Regions from separate parts of the Homo sapiens genome. Here region 2 is linked to region 1. Evidence: promoter capture Hi-C in 16 types of primary human blood cells and fetal thymus (Javierre and others, 2016). All regions are on one chromosome and are shown on one strand. Each heading gives the region's core, a stretch centred on a gene start or on the middle of the fragment in contact. The rest is flanking DNA. Distances are from core to core; before and after follow the strand shown.

The links. The method cuts DNA at HindIII sites, captures the fragments that hold promoters and counts their contacts. A CHiCAGO score of 5 or more calls a contact.
Region 2: the fragment with the promoter of RAB9A here is called in contact with a fragment that was not itself captured in region 1 in 1 of 17 cell types (non-activated CD4 T cells); the score reaches 6.7 in non-activated CD4 T cells.

The regions. Positions count from the first base shown.
Region 1 is chrX:13,496,468-13,499,553 of GRCh38, forward strand. No RefSeq gene overlaps it. Among named protein-coding and RNA genes, the nearest start is that of EGFL6, 72 kb to the right of the region's middle. The HindIII fragment of the contact is 4,972 bases long and covers 1-3,086 here.
Region 2 is chrX:13,687,620-13,690,398 of GRCh38, forward strand. RAB9A (RAB9A, member RAS oncogene family) reads left to right here and starts at 1,509. Exons shown (of 3, transcript NM_004251.5): 1 at 1,509-1,669. RefSeq lists an enhancer at 1,209-1,258 and silencers at 1,409-1,648, 1,659-1,818. The HindIII fragment of the contact is 3,610 bases long and covers 658-2,779 here.

The sequences.
Region 1 (3,086 bases), core at 173-2,672:
AACAGAGCAGAAGCGAAGCAATTGAGGCCAAAATTGTAATCAGCTTTTTGTGTGTGTTTTTGTTTTTTAATAGCATCAGCTTTGTTTTTTAAATTATTTATTTTAAAAAGTTTTAAACATAACATATATTCCTTATAGAAAATCTGGAAACTACAAAAGAATAAAAAAAAGAGAAAAAAAAGACTTACATCCCTATACTACCTCTGTTAATATTCTTCTAGTCTTTTTTGTTTTTGCCAAGATTTATTTTTACACAAAGAGAAAATATATTTCTATGTGTCACTTTGTATCCTTAACATCATGACAGAATCATTTCCCTTGCTATTACAAATTCAACATGAATAAGTTTTGTGACATTTCTTGGTTTTGTCTGTTTGTAAAGTCAACCCATTCTCCATGTAGAAAATTTGGAAAGCATGAAAAAGTGTAAAAAATGTACATAATCTATGATTCCATATCTAAATGATAATCACTCAAGATGTTGGTGGGATTTTTTCTTGTCTTTTTTTTTCGCTTTGATGGTACCTTTATTCTAATGATAATTAACTGGTGTTCACCTTATAATTTGCTTGACATATAGTAATTATCCAGGCAATATCATCCTTCCAGAATTTTGCCATGGCCAGGGCCTTGTATATTTGAATCCATAAGAAAATGTTAACTTTTTTCTTCAGATGGACCCTGGGTTTATACTTCACTTTGGATTCTTCCAAGTAATAAACTCCCAACCCAAGTAGTAGACAGGGAAACCTTCTTTTCCCTACTCATCACTATTCTTGTAGAGCGTACTTCCCCCTCTTTCTTGATGGAAATGCTCTGCAATATATCAGATTTGGTGGTGTGGATAGGACAACTAAAAATGCCTATGAATCCGTAGCTGGAATCTCATTAAGGATTTTGGTGATCATTGGTTTGTATAATTCAAACCTTATTTTATACATGTACATACACCCACAAACAAGAATTTGTCCCCAAACAAAATTGAGGTTTGCCTCTAAAACTCTTAGGAATGGAGATATTTGTCCAAAGGTAACACAGGATGTTGGTAAAAATAATGGCTTAAAGTCAGAAGGCCAGAGTTTGAATTGACCTTGACTACCCAGTCATGGGAATTTAGCAAATTGTTTCTCTTCCCTGAGCCTCAGTTTCCTTGTCTATAAAAAGGAGACATTAGCTACCTCATCAAGGATTAAGTGAAGTAACAAGTACAGACAACATAATAAATGGTGAAAGATTTATATGATGTGAAGAGAGAAATAGAACTGCCGTTCCACCCAGCAATTCCACTACTGGGTATCTGCCCAAAGTAAATCATTATATTAAGAAGACACTTGCACTTGTATATTTATTGCAGCACTATTCATAATAGCAAAGTTATGGAATCAACCTAAGTATCCATCAGCACATGATTGGATAAAGAAAATATGGTACATAGACACCATGGCATACTATGTAGCCATAAAAAAACAATGAAATGATGTCTTTTGCAGCAACATGCATGGAGCTGGAAGCCATTATCCTAACTGAAATAACTTAGAAACAGAAAATCAAATATCACATGCTCTCGCTTATAAGTGGGAGCTAAACAATGGGTGCACACGGACTTAAAAATGGAAATATGAATGATAGACACTGGGAGCTCCATAAGGGGGAAGTGGAAGAGGATGAGAGTTGATAAATTACCTATTGGATACTATGTTCACTATTTGGGTGATGGCTACATTAGAAGCCCAAAACCCACCATTACATAATATATCCATGTAACAAACTTGCACGTTCCCTGAATCTATATTTAAAAAAAAAATACAAACTATAGTGGGTGACATAGAAGAACCCCTTTATTAGATACCGGCAGTGAGCCAAGTAAGTTGCTATGTCACAGGCTGGCAAACTATGGCCCAAGGGCCAAATCTGGCATACTGCCTGTTTTTGTAAATAAAGTTTTATTGGAACACAGCCAAACCCATTCACTACTGTATTGCTTATGGCTGCTTTCATACTGTGTTGGCAGAGGGGAGTAGTTGCCACAGAGACTGTGGGGCCCTGAAAAGCCTGAAATATTTACTACCTGGTTCTTTACAGAAATTTATTTCCCACCCCTGTGTTAAATGTTTCCCCAAAACCACAGAGGTAAATTATATTGTCTTCCCATTTCACAGGTCAGGAAACTGACACATGCAGAGATTAAGGACTTGCTCACACTGCTGTTATTGAATTGGATCTTGATCCCAGGTCTATCTCAATTCAAAGTTTAGCAACCACTCTACAATGCTTCTTCAAAAGATATATGAATTAAATCTGAACTCTCATAGCCTTAACTTCCACTTCTGCCATAACATCTCACTTTCAACCATTGATAATGATTGAGCCTTGAATATAGACATTAGTGTCTCTTACATTCATTCCAGCATGCTGTTACATAGCTCCTCCAAAAGAAACCACATCTCAACTTCAAACCAGTATATCAAACTGCAAGTCAGGGAAATGGATGAAACTATGGCATTGTCAGAGTCAAGAACTGTGAAGGATCTGAGATTTGATCCTACTAGCAGTCTCATGAGTTAGTCTGCCACAGTTTCATGGATTCTGGCAAAAGATATGAGACTCTTGGGTCAGAGACAAAAGAGACTTCATTATTCTCAGAACTACAAGCAGCATGAGTTTTCATATTCACATCAGATCCTTCTCACTTCCCGAGTCCCATGGGAGTTACACAGAGTGGCCCAGGTAGATGCCGTGTATGCAGTGGGTTTACATCACAACTGAGGAATCCTGAGTTTAGGAAACCCAAATCTTTGACAATGGACGGTAGGTAAACCTGCCTGACTTTTGCTTGAGAGACAGATATTATCTTGGTTATACTTGACAGCAAACAAACTTGCCCTCAGTTCTGGAAGTAGATGTTCTTTCTACCTTTCAAAGGATGCTATACAAACATCCTTGACAAAAATGTGCAGAACAAAGGTTGTCAGCACCTCTGCCAGCAAGACAAAACTGTAAAGGTCGGTGGAGAATTGTCTCCCAACAGTCATTAACAAAAGCTCTATGTCTCTGTGTTCTATGTGTTGAGTGATTTTTACTTTCTA
Region 2 (2,779 bases), core at 259-2,758, 190 kb after region 1:
TATGGAACCTTCTTAGAACATTTTTATGAAAGCTGTTGGGTTTGTCAAGGTTTATTTTAACTCAAAATACAATAATTTTATGAGATCACTTGTTAATAGCTAGTTGGCATTAGCAGTTGCACAGATAAACTCCTATTTGATCACTCCTTGACTATGGTTAGGATATACGATTTTCAGGTGGCATTTCTTTAATTACCCTGTGGATTGCTTGTTGCAATTTGACCCAATGTACATGACTTTTTTTTCTATTGGAAAATTAACTCTAGTGTTCATATATAATGTTTTACTGTGTACTTTTAATATGTGTTTTAAAACAAGATAGTGTATATTTCTTCTTCCCCCCAATTTAACAGATTTGTATTTTATAAACGTTTATACATATTTCCTTGGGGAAATGACCTGCAGATAAGAAATAGATTTCTGTTTATGAGAAAACAATTATTTAAGCTTATGTGTCGTTTTCAGAAGCATTCTAAAATTGCCTTTTTAATTTGTGAGGAACTTTCTCAAACATGACCTTTCTAGTGCTGAATGAAAAGTCATTACCTGAAAATGACTCCCCAAAAAGCTGGAGATTATTTAACTTGTTGTGAGCCCCAGCATCATAAAAGTGAGATCTTTGTCTTGGAAAATAAACAGACTAAATCTTTTTTAAAAAGCTTTTATTTTAGGTTTAGGGGTACATGTGTAGGTTTGTCATGTAGGTAAACTGCCTGTTGCAAGGGCTTGGTGTACGGATTATTTAGTTACCCAGGTAATAAGCATAGTACTTGATACCTAGTTTTTTTCTGCTCCTTTTCCTCCTCACACCCTCAACCCTCAAGTGGGCCCTGGTGTCTCTTGTTCCTCTCTATGTGACCATGAGTTCTCATCATTTAGCTTCTACTTATGAGTGAGAACACGCAGTATTTGGTTTTCTGATAAACAAACTAAATCACCGTACAAAACGTATTGAGATGTCCCTATGAGTCCCTCCCGCCTGTAGGGTTCTGTATCATAGGATCCATGCACTCAACTTCATACATAAAGCAAGGACTTAAGGAGAGCTTCTCCAATACCACCTTTTGCACCATCGCTTTCTATTCAGAGATGACAGAGGCAGTATTTTAACAAGATTAAAGGAAAGTTTTAATAGCTTCATTTAAAAAGTTCTTGTTTTTCCACAGTATCACAACTGTTTTCATTTTTCATCCACCTGTTTGTTCTTTGTCCGTTTGACTAGTCGTTTTTATCATTGTAATCACGACATCCTGTGACTGTGCTCATGAGGTCTGTTTATTTCCACTTTACGTAAACTTTTCAAAATGACAGTTATTTCGTACTCGCTGTCGCCCGAACGCAGACGGGAGGACACTTCAGGAGCAATCGACCCGAAGGAAAAGCACGATCCAGGCCCCGCCTGCCTCGGCTCCACCTTCCCCGCGCCCGTCCCCCAGGGTCTCGGCCGCGGGACCCCGCCTTCCAGGCCCCGCCCCGCTTTTTCCCTGGCCCCGCCCCGGCCCGTCGCCATGTTGTTCCCTCCGCGCTGGACGGGAGCAGCTGGAGCGGGAGCCTGGCTGCGCTACCGCGGCTGCCTCCTGCTGTGCAGGTCCCCGACCCTCTCTCTGTCCTCATTGCGCCCAGACGGGCCGGCCCAGAGCTCCCGGGTCGTCTTTCGTGTGGCCGCGAGGTGAGCGGGACTCGGGACTCCTTCGGGACCGGGCGGAGTGCGCGGGTGTCGGGGTCTGAGGGGGCGGCTCGGGCCTCGGGCAGCTGGGGCGGGGTGCGGTGCGCGCGGGGCTAGCGCGGGTCACAAGGCCGCCCCGGGAGAGAGGACGGCTGGTTGTCTCCCTGCCTCCTCTCTGACGCAGGAGGAAAGACGGTCCCCACACCCTTGGGGAGAGGGACTCACAGAAACACACACAAACACTGGAGAAAGGGAGATACAAAAGCCCGGACACCCGTGCACATACACACGGAGAAATACACCCGGTCACCTGGGAACACACGTACACGCCAGCCTTTCCCCCAACCACTCCGGGACACACATCCACAGACCCCAAACCAAATCCTACACCCGAATGATTAATGTAGGGAAAACAAAGGCGCTCCCATGACTTGATTTTGGCGACCTCTGAAGTTCCACCTAGCAGAACGTGTTTGCTCGATGTCTTACGACCACTCGGGTGAGGAATTCGGAAAGTAAAGCCAATCTTAGAGGCTGCAGGCGTTTTGGGGGCATTATCTGATTCAGACGCTGGCTAACGTTTCACAATCGCGTTCCCTTTTTTCTTCCAACTTGGTAAGTAAAAAGGCAAAATGAGAAATTTAAGTGCTGAACTTAATAAATAGTTGGTGGACGTATTGCTTTTTTTTTTTTTTGGTAAGGGATGACACATCTCGTGACTACAGTTCTTTTGAGGAATAACTTTTCTGCTAGTTTCCAAATCGGCACGTGACCACAATCTTTTCATAGGATTTTAGCGTCCTGATAAAAATCAATGGGCAGAATTTGATTGCTTCTTTAAAAATGTGTTTGTCCTTCGGTCTCTGGCACCATTGTAATGGAAAATCCCTACATTGCCTGTACTCTCAGAAGCTGTCCAGTGTAGCAAAACTAGAGATAAAGAAACCTGGAACGATTCAGTTAGGAACTTTTAAGAAGCCAGCCTTTAGTTTTTCCTTTAGAAGATTATGAAGTTATCATGATTGCTTCTCTAGAACTTTAGTAGTTATTTGGATTCCTAAATCTAAGACAATGCTGTGGCAGTCTGGTGCTTTTAGTATTTTTGTGTCTGCT